4 separate regions of the Homo sapiens genome follow, and all the other regions are linked to region 1. The links are contacts of gene promoters, found by promoter capture Hi-C in blood cells and fetal thymus (Javierre and others, 2016). All regions are on one chromosome and are shown on one strand. The core of a region is centred on a gene start or on the middle of the fragment in contact, and the rest is flanking DNA. Distances in the headings are between cores, read along the strand shown. Region 1 holds the start of SDHB (succinate dehydrogenase complex iron sulfur subunit B). Region 2 overlaps PADI6 (peptidyl arginine deiminase 6). Region 3 holds the start of NBPF1 (NBPF member 1). Region 4 overlaps PADI4 (peptidyl arginine deiminase 4).

Region 1 (3,033 bases), core at 111-2,610:
GTTTGGGACTCTCAGTGCAGAAACCTGGGCAGCCTCGGGCAAGCTGCACGGTATGCGACAGAAAGGGCTGACTCAAGCCAGTAAGCGTCAGAGATGAATAATAAGACTGACAAATTCTTAGGGAGGCTAGGTGTGGTGGCTCACGCCTGTAATCCCAGCACTTTGGGAAGTTGGAGCAGGATGATTGCTTGAGCCCAGCCTGGGCAACATAGCCAGACTCCATCTCTACAAATAATTTTTTAAAAAAATTATCCGGGTGGCCGGGCGCGGTGGCTCATGCCTGTAATTCCAGTACTTTGGGAGGCCGAGGTGGGTGGCTCACGAGGTCAGGAGTTCAAGACCAGCCTGGCCAAGATGGTGAAACCCCATCTCTACTAAAAACACAAAAAAATTAGCCGGGCATGATGGCGGACGCCTATAATCCCAGCTACTCGGGAGGCTGAGGCAGGGAATTGCTTGAACCCGGGAGGCGGAGGTTGCAGTCAGCCGAGATCGCGCCACTGCACTCCAGCCTGGGAGACAGAGCGATACTCCATCTCAAAAAAAAGAAAAAAAAAAAAACTACCCGGGTATGGTGGCTCACACGCCTGTAGTCCCAGCTACTCTGGAGGTGGGAGGATCGCTTGAGCCTGGGAAGTCGAGGCTGCAGTGAGCCAAGACTGCACACCGGCCTGGGCAACAGAGTGAGACCCTGTCTGAAAAAAAAAAAAAAAATTGGCCGGGCGCAGTGGCTCATGCCTGTAATTCCAGCACTTTGGGAGGCCAAGGTGGGCGGATCACGAGGTCAGGAGTTCAAGACCAGTCTGGCCAAGATGATGAAACCCCGTCTCTACTAAAAATACAAAAAATTAGCCGGGTGTGATGGTGTGCGCCTGTAATCCCAGCTACTCGGGAGGCTGAGGCAGGAGAATCGCGTGAACCCGGGAGGCGGAGGTTGCAGTGAGCCAAGATCGCGCCATTGCACTCCAGCCCGGGAAACAGTGCGAGACTCCATCTCAAACAAACAAACAAAAATTCCAGGAATAAAGAGGTTGAAATCGGGGCAGGGACCCGGATAGGATGGCTCCGCCCCATCTAAGTCTTAGCCCCACCCCCTGAAAGTCGCCCTGCCTCTCAGACTCCTCCCCTTTCTGAGAAGGTCACGGGGGAAGCCAAATGGGCATGCGCCGCTACTGCGCTATTGCGCACGCTCGCTGTGCTTGCCCCGCCTTCCCTCCGCCCACCCGGGAAACCGGAAGCCGCCTCCCACTTGGTTGCTCGTACGCGGCTAGTGGGTCCTCAGTGGATGTAGGCTGGGCGCCGCGATGTTCGACGGGACACCGGCGGAGAGCGACCTCGGGGTTAAGGGGTGGGGCTGACGTCAGGAGCCAAGATGGCGGCGGTGGTCGCCCTCTCCTTGAGGCGCCGGTTGCCGGCCACAACCCTTGGCGGAGCCTGCCTGCAGGTGAGTCCTGGAGCCTCAGAGAGGGAAAAGTCAGGAAAGCCACAGAGACTGCCTGGAGCTGATGGGGCTGCGGAGAGACTGAGGAAGCATAGGGCAAGGCCTCAGGGAGATGGAGGACCTCCTCCCCCTGGTGCAGTGCTTTGGTTTGGCTTCGAGCATCCCTGTCAAGTTATCTTTCTGCGCCTCGCAGCAGCTTGTGAGTTAGGGCACGGGCAATTTTTTACAGCTAAGGGTGCGGGGGGGGGGGACGTTCAGAAAGGGGACTTGAATTGCTCAAGGTCACATGGCAAGCGAATGACTGCTGGAACCAGAATTTGAATCCAGACATTGGAGTTCCAAGCCCTTTTTCTGCCACCAAACTATCGCCTCTGTAGAAAAGGGAGACCTGCGGGGTGTGAAGGATGGGAATTGGGAAGCGAGGTAATTCCTCAAGGGTGCGAGGTTGAGGACCGGGATGGGTGAGGAAAGGACATGTGAATTGTTGGGGACAGGGCAGGGGAAGGGAGAGATGGAGGGAAATGCACCCAGCCCCCTACCTCGAAGGATCCCGGAGGTGGGTGGTGGGGGTTGCAGGAAAGACTGGGTTCCTTAAAGCAGTGTCACCACAGTTTCACTAGTATCCTCTCAGTGTTTCTGACTCTAAAGGTCATATAATAATACGGACCTCATAGAGTTGACATGGAATGACAGGTAGAGGGCTTGGCGCTGTTCTTGTTTATTACTATGCCGTGTGCAGTAACAGATTTTCCCACGCCCCTTGTATGGCCAAGAAACAACACATTTCTGACCTGCCTTCTAAGTGGGAACATTTAGAAGGGGAAGGGAAATTGCTTTTGTATACATAAGGGACTAAGGATTTGCAAATCCTTTCTAAGTCTGTTCCTCTTCTGGGATTCTCAACAACCCCTTTAAGGTGGGCAAGCAAGAATCCTTACCCTCCTTTTTGGAGCTTTGAAAACTTGAGGCCCCCAGAAAGAAAATTTTTGGCTTGCTCAAAATATCACATTCCCAAGAAGCAGACCTGAGGCAGTTTTTTAACATGGTACCAGAAAAACTCCTTAGCATAGATCTTGGGACATGGTTGGTGTCCAAGAAATTTTAGTTCCTCTTCCTCTCTTGCACTTAAATGAGGACATCTTTCATCTTAAGTGCCTGCTATGGCTGCATAACACAGTACATATTGCCCATGTTCCAATCCTGGTTCTATCCAGCATGCTGTGTGTGAACTTGGATCCACTCTGTCTGCATCAGCCTTTCTGAAAAGGGGAGATAGAGGAAGAAGACAGCCTACCAGAGCCTCAAGCTGACATCCTCTCAGTATTAAATTGATGATTGATAATGAGCTTGTTTACCTGTTCCTTTTATAGTTGCTGAGCAAACAATTAAATTGTGAGAGCCCCACTAACGAGAGAGTTCCAAGCCCCTCTTCTAAGAATGCATTGTAGAAAAGGCTAATTTCATAGGTCATTTTTGTAATTCCAGGCAAGGTCTTTGCAGGGCCTCCTGAGGGCAACAGAAAATAGAAGAGCCCCAAGGCCTCCCCTTCCTTGTGGGAATGTACATGTATACCCACAAAAGCCACCTCAAAA
Region 2 (2,917 bases), core at 271-2,770, 330 kb before region 1:
CGCCTGGCCCCCCCCCCTCCTTTTCTTTTTTGAGGTGGAGTCCTGCTCTGTTGAGCAGGCTAGAGTGTAGCGGCACTATCTCGGCTCACTTCAACCTCCATCTCCTGGGTTCAAGCAATTCTTGTACCTCAGCTTCCTGAGTAGCTAGGACTATAGGTGTGCACCACCATGCCCGGCTAGTTTTTTGTATTTTTAGTAGAGATGGGGTTTTACCACATTGCCCAGGCCAGTCTCCAACTCCTGAGCTCAGGCAATCCATCTGCCTCAGCCTCCCAAAGTGCTAGGATTACAGTCGTGAGCCACTGTGCCCAGCCCAAGTCCATTCATTTTCTAGGTCAGAAATGACCCTGACTTCTCCCACCTGGGTCACTCGAACTTCCTCTTTCCTGGCCTGTCCTCTATCTGTGCCCGATGTGGCAGCTGTAGGCCTGATGGCTGTTCCTGCTCAAGATTCCAGGTGACTTATTTCAGGGGATCCTAAGCTAGATTTACCTTGGCCACTAGAACCCCAAGAGATCCAGGAACTGTAGCATCCTCAGACCTTCTGCACGGCACTGCCAGCTGCCTCCATCTCCAGCTCCTCCAACGTGCCAGCAGATGGCTGCAGCTGCGGCCGTGGCTGCCCCTGGTTAGGCACTGCCCTGGGTCCTCGGCCTCTTGCTCTGGGTTAGAGCCCCAGCAGCCCTCCCGATGGACTCTGCAGTTCTGCAGCAGCCCCTCCTTGGAGGCCCTGGGGATGCTGGTTACAGGCCCAGCCTCAGTCCTGCTGCTGGCTGTGAGGGAACTGGGCCCACCGGGACCACTCCTGTGCTAGTTCCTGCTTCTCATCTACCTAGATGCTTCACCAGCCCTGAGCCAGGCCTCATGGGGCAAGACCAGACAAGGCAGTCTTCCCCCAGGAACCCCTGCAACTTCCCAGTGCAGACACAGCCCTCTTGACCTGCGATAGCATCAGCAGGCCCACGGCATGCAGCCCAAGAGGTGCCACACACCTAGGGCCTGCTCCTGTTCTGGGGACCTGGGCTCCCTGTGGCCATTCCACCCAAGGGTGATTCACCACCAGGCAGTGAGGGCGAGAGGGTCACAGTCTGTTTGCCACAATCCCCTACTGGCTGGCTCTCCTGTGGTTGACCTTCTGGGGGCCCCTCTCACAGATAGTTTGTTGTGAAGCATAGCTAACATTTCACTGTGGGCTATCTTTGCTAGGAGCTGTGGTAGGTGTTTCAGGCTCATGGGCTCACATCCTCAGGACCCTTTGAAGCAGGCATTTGTTGTCCCCATTAAACAGAAGCATGGGGGAGGCCAGAAGCCCTGCGACCCAAGTACACACAATAGCTGCCTCTACCTGGAAGGCCCTCCCTGCCCTCAGTCCTCACAGAGCTGCCCAGGAGGCCTTAGCTACCTCAAACTCTCCCTACCCACCCTGGGGGCATATTAAAGGGCTCCCTCCAGCCTCTGCTGGGTCCTCGACTGTCTGTCCATCTGTCGTAGCAGGCTCTGAGAGCAGGTAACATGGTTTATTCTTCCAGAGCTGGATCCTCAGGGCACAGAGCAAATACTGATGATTTGAGCTGAGCTTTTTCCTACCTGCCATGTACTGCTGGACTTACAGGAAGGTGGGTACCCTTCTTGGTTCTTCACTGGCACTTCTCGGCCATTTCTCTATTCCTCAAGAATCCCAGTTCCTGTGAAGTGCTGGCCATCAGATAATGCCAGCTACCCCTTTCTTTTGGGGACGACGATGTCATCCTCTCCATCCTTCGTGGATTGTTCTAGCATACTTGCCCTCCACTGCTGTTGTGTCACTGGTATCTGACAATAGACTAGAACATCTAGACATTTTGATCTCTCTTCGACGACCTTATTTCAATGAACCTGGGTTCTATACCACCTTAGACATCCATTACAATGATCATAACCCAGACTAGATGCCACCTCCAAGGCAGACAATGCCTTCCGATCTGTTTCGCTCACCTATGCTCCCACCCCAGCGAGTCCCCAACCTCAGTCCCAGATCCTCCTACCGATCCCCACCCTCCATCCTCACACTTCCCTTTGACCCTTCTCAGAGCCCAAAAACCCATCACTACATCCTCTCTTATACACACTGTCCACTCCCACACCTTTTTCTAGTTTGCTTTCCTGGAAAACCTCCATTCTGGTCACACCAGGTCTTTAAAGCTCACTCTTGCACCTGAGATGCTGGAGAAAACCATCACACCAAAAGGCCTCATTTCAGGCTACGACCAGACCTCAGAGCAAGCCACCAACACTACTCAAACACTATCGTCTCATTCCTGTCCACAGACTCACCTGTATTCCATAGTCCTAAAGGTGATCCTCCTGCCTTGGCCTCCCAAAGTGCTGGGATTACAGGTGTGAGCCACCACGCCCAGCCTGTTTAGAACCTTGTCTTCTGGCTTTCTATTCCTCTGCAAACTTCTCAGATCTTCCTCTAGGATCCATTTCCCCACCCCTGTTGGATCAGTTCCATCTATACATCTGCCCGTGTACTACCAGCTTCAGACACGCTCGACTGCGTGCTGGCCCCTGTAATTACCACCACACATCTCCCTTTACGGAGAGAGAATTCTTTCTGTGGCCTAGATTTACTGTGCCTCCCCATTTCAACCTGGCTTTTCACTGTTATTATCAGGGTCACTGATGACTGCCATTCTGAGGATTGTGACTTTACTATGGGCTTGGGCATCTTAGTCTATCCCACAGCATTTGCCAGGGTTGGCCACTGCCTTACTTTGCCCAGACTGGAGTGCAGTGGTGCAATGTCGGCTCACTGCAGCCTCTGCCTCCCGGGTTCACATGATCCTCCCGCCTCAGTCTCCTGAGTAGCTAGGATTACAAGCTAAAGCCACCACACCTAGCTAATTTTGGTATTTTTAGCAGATGGTTTTAACCA
Region 3 (3,055 bases), core at 393-2,892, 440 kb after region 1:
CAACTCAGCCTAAAACGATATAAAATCAGTTTTAATATAACTGAAGTTTCTACATTCTGACTCCAACTGTCAGATTGTGACATTTTCTCTTTCTCTGACTTTATGCCAAATTTACTTCAACTTCTAGCATCCATCATTCTCATTTATGAACAAATATGTATTTAACAAATGTGGAAATACAAATCATGAAGCAAACAAAACCAAACCCTGGGCTTACGTAGCCGATAGTAAAAAATTCACCAAAATAACCACCCGATTACAGTTTCATGCAATGTGATAGGAGTAAGGGACCACCATAGGGAGGTCAGAAGGTGCTTTTCAGAGGTGGAGACTACAGCTGTTCTCAGAAGAATAGGGGTTAGAAGAACTTTCCAGGCACAGAGCAAAGCATGAGCAAAAGCTCTGTGGAGGCCAGGAAGCTGGTAAATAGGGAATAAAAGAGGCCAGTTTGGCTGGAGCAGAGAGAGCAGAACAGAATTGGTCTGAGTAGTGAGAAGAGATGAAGAAGTGGGCAAGGCGCCTGGCCATTCGGGGCTTGGTTAGTTAGGAGGTTTTGTCTAAGAGAATGGGAAGGTGTTTAAGTGCTTTAGGCTGGGAAGTGACACGGTCACATTATATTTTGGAAAAGCCACTCTGCCTGTTGTGTTGAGATTAGAGAGGCGATAAAGGGGATATGGGTAAACCACAAGAAGACTAGGTCAGTAGTCCCTCGACCCTCACTCCCCAGGTGAAGGCAGCCTAGACTAGGGTGGTGACGGAGGAGATAGAAGAGGACAGATTCAAGGAAAATTTGGAAGGTAAAAACCAGTAGGATTTGCTGACGGATGGAGTATAGGAGGGGAGAGGTAGATTATCAGGGATGTATCTTAGTTTTCTTATACAAGATAGATTCAGTTGCAATGAAATTGTTAACTGAAATTGACTTTAAATAATGGCATGACCTAAAGTTATGCAAACATTTGCCTTAGATAAAATATCAAGTTTTCAAAGTTTTTAGCTGGGTGGACGGCATGGCTTTACTTCCTATTTCTTGGTATTCTAATCCTGTTGAAAAAAAAAGTTTTTCTTTTTCTCAAAGGCTTATTTCAGTGGAAGCCCATCTGCAAAATCTGTTAATAAATTTAAATTAGAAAATAACTACAAGTGCCATTGACACATTGGTTATTCTTTTTGAGAGTGACCTAAGGCCACCTCTGGGAGAGCTGGGGGCTCTTCTGAAGCCTGCCCGACTGCACCGCGTGCCCGTGCCTGGAAGTCAGATTCGGGGCGGTGCGGCAGCGCGAGGCCTGCAGTCCTAAGCGCGGGGTCGCTCCAGCCCCAGAGGGGGTGTGTCTCCTGCCTCTTCAACCTGGCAGGGGCTGTTCAAGTGGCCGGGGAAACCAGCGATTTGGAGGGTCGAGGGCTGGTGCTTTGAAAGACAGGCGGAGGGGAGAGAGGGATTTCCCCGTCCCCGCTGCACTCGGTCCTTCCCCTGGGTTACTCCTTTCCTCCGCCTGCGCGGCCCCTAACCTGCTCGAACCCGTTGTGCAGAAGAGGCCGCCGGGTCCCTTTAAGGCCCCGCCGCGCCTGCGCCTTGGGTTATCCTGACACGCCCATCGGGATCCTGAGGAGCCAGTGGGCTGCAGGCGCAGGCGCAGGCGAGGGGCTGGGTGGCGGTTGAGACAGCGGCGGTACTGGGAGGCGTAGGTGAGGGTCGCGAGGCTGCCCGAGCTTCTGAGCGAGCGCGGTGCTTTTGGGAACGCGGGACGGGCGATCTGCGGCGCCAGGAGCTGGGCCGAGGCGCGGCGGCGCGGCTGCCGGCTGCCCTGTGAATGGGAAGTTACGCGAAGTCCACCCAGCGTTTCTGAGGTGAGGGCGCCGCGCCAGGCTGGGCGGGCGGTGAATCCGGGACCCGCGGGCGCACAGCTGGGTCGAGGCGCGGCCGTGGCAAGTTTTGTTGCGCGAGCGCGGGGGCGGGTGGGGGCTGTGGGGGGTCGTGCACCGCCGGGGCCTGAGTTCCCCGCGCTGGATTCTTCGCCTGCCGCTGCCGCCCGCAGCCCAACTCTCGTGGGCGCTGGGGAAGAAACTCGCTGGCGGGTGTTCTGTGGCATCCCAGGGGGTGGAGGGACGGAGCAGCTTCGGGGGCACGTCCTCCTATATCCTGTAGAGGACACTGACCCCGCACCCCACCCTCCAGGCCAGAAATCCGTTCCCTCTGCGGACCTGAGAGGCGAGCGCGCTCGCGCCCCTGACTTGCAAAGTTGGGGTCTTTACTGGCCTCCGGGCTTCTGCTCCTGGCGGTGTCTCCAGGCTGGTGATGGGCAAGCCAGGTGTGCCAGCTCCAGGATGCACATGAGCAGCATTTGTAGCCATCACTGAATCACCTCCTGACTAGCGGGGCAAGCCTCAAATGAACCGCAGGATTTCGGGTAGATTGGATTGTGGGGTTGCTGTTTGCACTCCAAAGAGTTGCTGTGATTTCCCTGCGTCTGGCTGGCTGGCTGGCTTCTTAGATCATCTCATGTGGCGTCCTTTCAGCGGAGAGTTAACCAAGACGTTTGGCCTGGCTTCCTTGTTTTCCTCCTATCTTTTGCTTAGAGCTGCTTTCGAAAAGAAGTCTTTTCTGGCAGTGGTATCTTTTCTTTGGGTTACAGTGTTGTTCATCCTTTCTTTGCCAAAAGAATGAATCCCAGTGCTTCAGGAAGTTAAAGAAAAGATCTGCTGGTAGTGTTCTGAGCTGATATGCGTTAGTAGCTTTTTGTTTTTAAATTCTATTGGTAAAATTTCACTAGTGAACCAGAAGCTACTTTTTCTATTCTGAAATGCTAGCTTTAAGATTTCTGAGAACTTTGCGTCAAAGAAATCTTGGAAAAGTTACTGAAGTATACAGAAGTTCACAATTTTACATGTGCAGGTGGCCCGGGCGCAGTGATCACACCTGTAATCCCAGCACTTTGGGACGCCAAGGTGGGTAGATCACTTGAGCCCAGGATTTCCAGACCAGCCTGGGCAATGTGGCAAAACCCTTTCTCTACTAAAAATACAGAAGTTAGCTGTGTGTGGTGGCGTGTGCCTG
Region 4 (2,842 bases), core at 137-2,636, 300 kb before region 1:
CTTACAGGAACAGCACAGAAAACAGACAACATTAAAAATATCTACTTGCATGCAGGACAGACAGCTCAGAAAAGTATAGTGAATGGATGGAATCTACTGTGTGATAAAAATGCTACAAGTACCATTTAGTTGCTGTCAATAAGAAATGTCCTTGTTTTAAGCCAGGCGTGGTGGCTCATGCCTGTAACCCCAGCACTTTGGGAGGCCGAGGTGGGTGGATCACCAGGTCAGGAGTTCGAGACCAGCCTGGCCAGCATGGCAAAACCCCATCTCTACTAAAAATACAAAACATTAGCCAGGTGTGGTGGTGCACACCTGTAATCCCAGCTACTCGGAAGGCTGGGGCAGGAGAATCACTTGAACCCGGGATGCAGAGGCTGCAGAGAGTCGAGATCGCGCCATTGCACTCCAGCCTGGGCAATAGAGGAAAACTTCGTTTCAAAAGAAAAGAATGTCCAGAAAAATTTAACAGGTTTACTTATAATTATTATAAAGTTGAACCATGAAACTTGTTCACTGGAACATTTTGCCTTGCATTAACGCTAAATTATCTTATCTCCAAAGAGATCCCATCGAGAGAGGAAGAAACAGGTCAGCCCTCTCCTGATGCCACACAACATACTCAGATCTGAGGTGGAGCTCTCAGCCACAGAGGCATCTCAGCCCGGGGCCTGGCCCATGTCTGTGAGCTCTGCTGAGAGAGTAATATTTCATCTGTGCTCCAGCTATACCGAACCTCCCCGAGGTCCTCACACACATCGTGCTTTCTCCTGCCTCTGAGCCGCCCCACCCCCGTCCCTCTGCCTGTGGTATCTCTCTTCCTCTCATTTCCCTGCCCCGTTTGCCCAGCCAACCCCTACTTGCATGCTACTGCTTGGCCTCTGCCTCCTCCAAGAAGCCTTCCCTGAGCTCCATCCACTCAGACACCCCTCAAAGCCCCTGTGTTGGAGCTGTTCTTTTGACTCACTTCCCCCTGGCCTGTGAGCCCACAGGGCAGCAAGCTGTTCTGCCCTGTTCATGCAGTCTCCCTAGCACTTGGCACAGTGCCTGGCGCACAGTAGGTGCTCAGATGCTACCCTATTGCCTGGATGATTCCCTCCAGGCAACAGCGGACTATGGGAAGCAGGAAGGTGCACAGACAGGAGAACAAGGCAGGGCCGACTTACTCTTGATCCCTTCGAACAGCAGGGCCTCCCCGTGGCCCTCATTCTGCTGCTCCTGGAACAGTTTGTAGCAGGACCTGGGGCTGGCCAGGAGCAGCCGGAAGCCCTGGAGGCAGAAACACTGGGGTTAGAAGTCAGCTTTGCCCCTGGAGCTCCCAACGAGGGTGGATCTGCTGAGGGTGGGAGTAGTGTGGACTTGGACCCAAGCTGGCCACCTCCTCTACTGCCATCCTAAGGGTGAAGGAGAAATAGACAAGTAAAGTTGCTCCCACCCCAGGCAGAGGGTCTACCCAGGAAGGAGGCATGGCTTCCTGAGGCAGCCCCCAAGACTGTACCTTCCTGTCGGGTGCTGGCACAAAGCTCAGGAACTCGTCCACGTGGCCCACGGACAGCCAGTCAGAATAGAGCTTCACAGGGGCCTGCACCTGCTGGGCACTGAGGAAGTCCTGCAGGGCCTGGTGCATCTGCCGGCTGTCATTGCTGTCATGGCAGGGTTAAAGGGGTGTTATCGGCAGCAAGGGCTACAGGGAAGTCCCTGAAGGACAAGGGGCTTGGCAAAAAGGTCAGGGTTCTCCTTCAGCTGAGAAAGGGATGCAGGAGTCTAGAATGCCTTTATTTTATCCCCTAACATTTGAGAAATCAAGGAATTGTCATTCTAGTTTTATTGGGGGAAACTGAGGCACAGAGTCACTAAGGTAAGTAGAACAGAGCTTAGCCTCAGAAAGCACTGCCTCTTGAGTTAGATGAGATGCTGGTATTCTGGGTACACATGGGGCTTAGAGCCAGTCTGACCTAAGTCGGTGATCTCTTGTTAGCCATGTGGCCTTGGGGACATTCCTTCACCTGTTTGAGCCTCAGTTTTCTCCTAAAAAAAAAAATTAGTGTTGCAGTGCCTTGTTCTTCCTCACTTTTTTTTTTTTTTTTGAGACAGAGTCTTGCTCTGTTGCCCAGGCTGGCACAATCTCGGCTCACTACAACCTCCGCCTCCCGGGATCAAGCGATTCTCTTGCCTCGGCCTCCCGAGTAGCTGGGATTACAGGCATGCATCACCAGGCCCAGCTAATTTTTGCATTAGTAGAGACGGGGTTTCGCCATGTTAGTCAGGCTGGTCTCGAACTCCTGACCTCAGGTAATCCACCTGCCTTGGCCTCCCAAAGTGCTGGGATTACAGGTGTGAGCCACTGTGCCCAGCCTCTTCTTGTTCAATAGGTTCTAGCCATCCTGGCCTTGCACGCAGGAGCTCATTCCTGCCTCAGGGCCTTTGCACATGCACTTTCATTTGCCAGGAACTCTCTGTCCCAGATCTCCAGGTGGCCCTGTCCCTTCTGTCATTAGGCCTCAGTTCAAAAGCCCCTTCCCCAGAGAGGACCTCCCTGGTCACCCTAACAGTTCCTATTCCTCCCGTGCCCCTCTCTTTTGTTTTTGTCATTTGAAGTTATCTTGTCTACTTTTCTATCATCTGTTTCCCTACTAGAGTAGTGGTAAGGACTTGTCTTTCTTGTCCACGGCTGCATTCCCAGCTCCCAGAACATTTTGGATGCTCAGTAAATATTCACTGACTGAAAGAGGGTAAGTGGCAGGGCTGGAATTGAACTTGGGTCTATGGGCTCCAAAGCCCGCATTCCTCACCCTGCGCTTGGATTCCTCTCACACTCCCTCAAGTCTGTTGGGCTGTCTAG

The links. The method cuts DNA at HindIII sites, captures the fragments that hold promoters and counts their contacts. A CHiCAGO score of 5 or more calls a contact.
Region 2: a contact is called between a fragment that was not itself captured here and the fragment with the promoter of SDHB in region 1, in 4 of 17 cell types (neutrophils, endothelial precursors, megakaryocytes and 1 more). The highest score is 8.5, in neutrophils.
Region 3: a fragment that was not itself captured here is called in contact with the fragment with the promoter of SDHB in region 1 in 3 of 17 cell types (total CD4 T cells, naive CD8 T cells and erythroblasts); the score reaches 6.3 in total CD4 T cells.
Region 4: a fragment that was not itself captured here is called in contact with the fragment with the promoter of SDHB in region 1 in 2 of 17 cell types (neutrophils and monocytes); the score reaches 13.5 in neutrophils.

The regions. Positions count from the first base shown.
Region 1 is chr1:17,052,359-17,055,391 of GRCh38, reverse strand. SDHB (succinate dehydrogenase complex iron sulfur subunit B) reads left to right here and starts at 1,360. Exons shown (of 8, transcript NM_003000.3): 1 at 1,360-1,444. The coding sequence starts at 1,373. RefSeq lists enhancers at 821-870, 1,421-1,480. The HindIII fragment of the contact is 17,146 bases long and covers 1-3,033 here.
Region 2 is chr1:17,384,559-17,387,475 of GRCh38, reverse strand. The region is part of intron 6 of PADI6 (peptidyl arginine deiminase 6); the gene reads right to left. Among named protein-coding and RNA genes, the nearest start is that of PADI6, 14 kb to the right of the region's middle. The HindIII fragment of the contact is 3,457 bases long and covers 1-2,917 here.
Region 3 is chr1:16,612,131-16,615,185 of GRCh38, reverse strand. It overlaps NBPF1 (NBPF member 1), which reads left to right and starts at 1,622. Exons shown (of 18, transcript NM_001405701.2): 1 at 1,622-1,848. RefSeq lists an enhancer at 821-1,778. The HindIII fragment of the contact is 6,693 bases long and covers 1-3,055 here.
Region 4 is chr1:17,354,784-17,357,625 of GRCh38, reverse strand. It overlaps PADI4 (peptidyl arginine deiminase 4), which reads right to left. Exons shown (of 16, transcript NM_012387.3): 12 at 1,499-1,643; 13 at 1,167-1,269. Among named protein-coding and RNA genes, the nearest start is that of PADI6, 16 kb to the left of the region's middle. The HindIII fragment of the contact is 6,300 bases long and covers 1-2,842 here.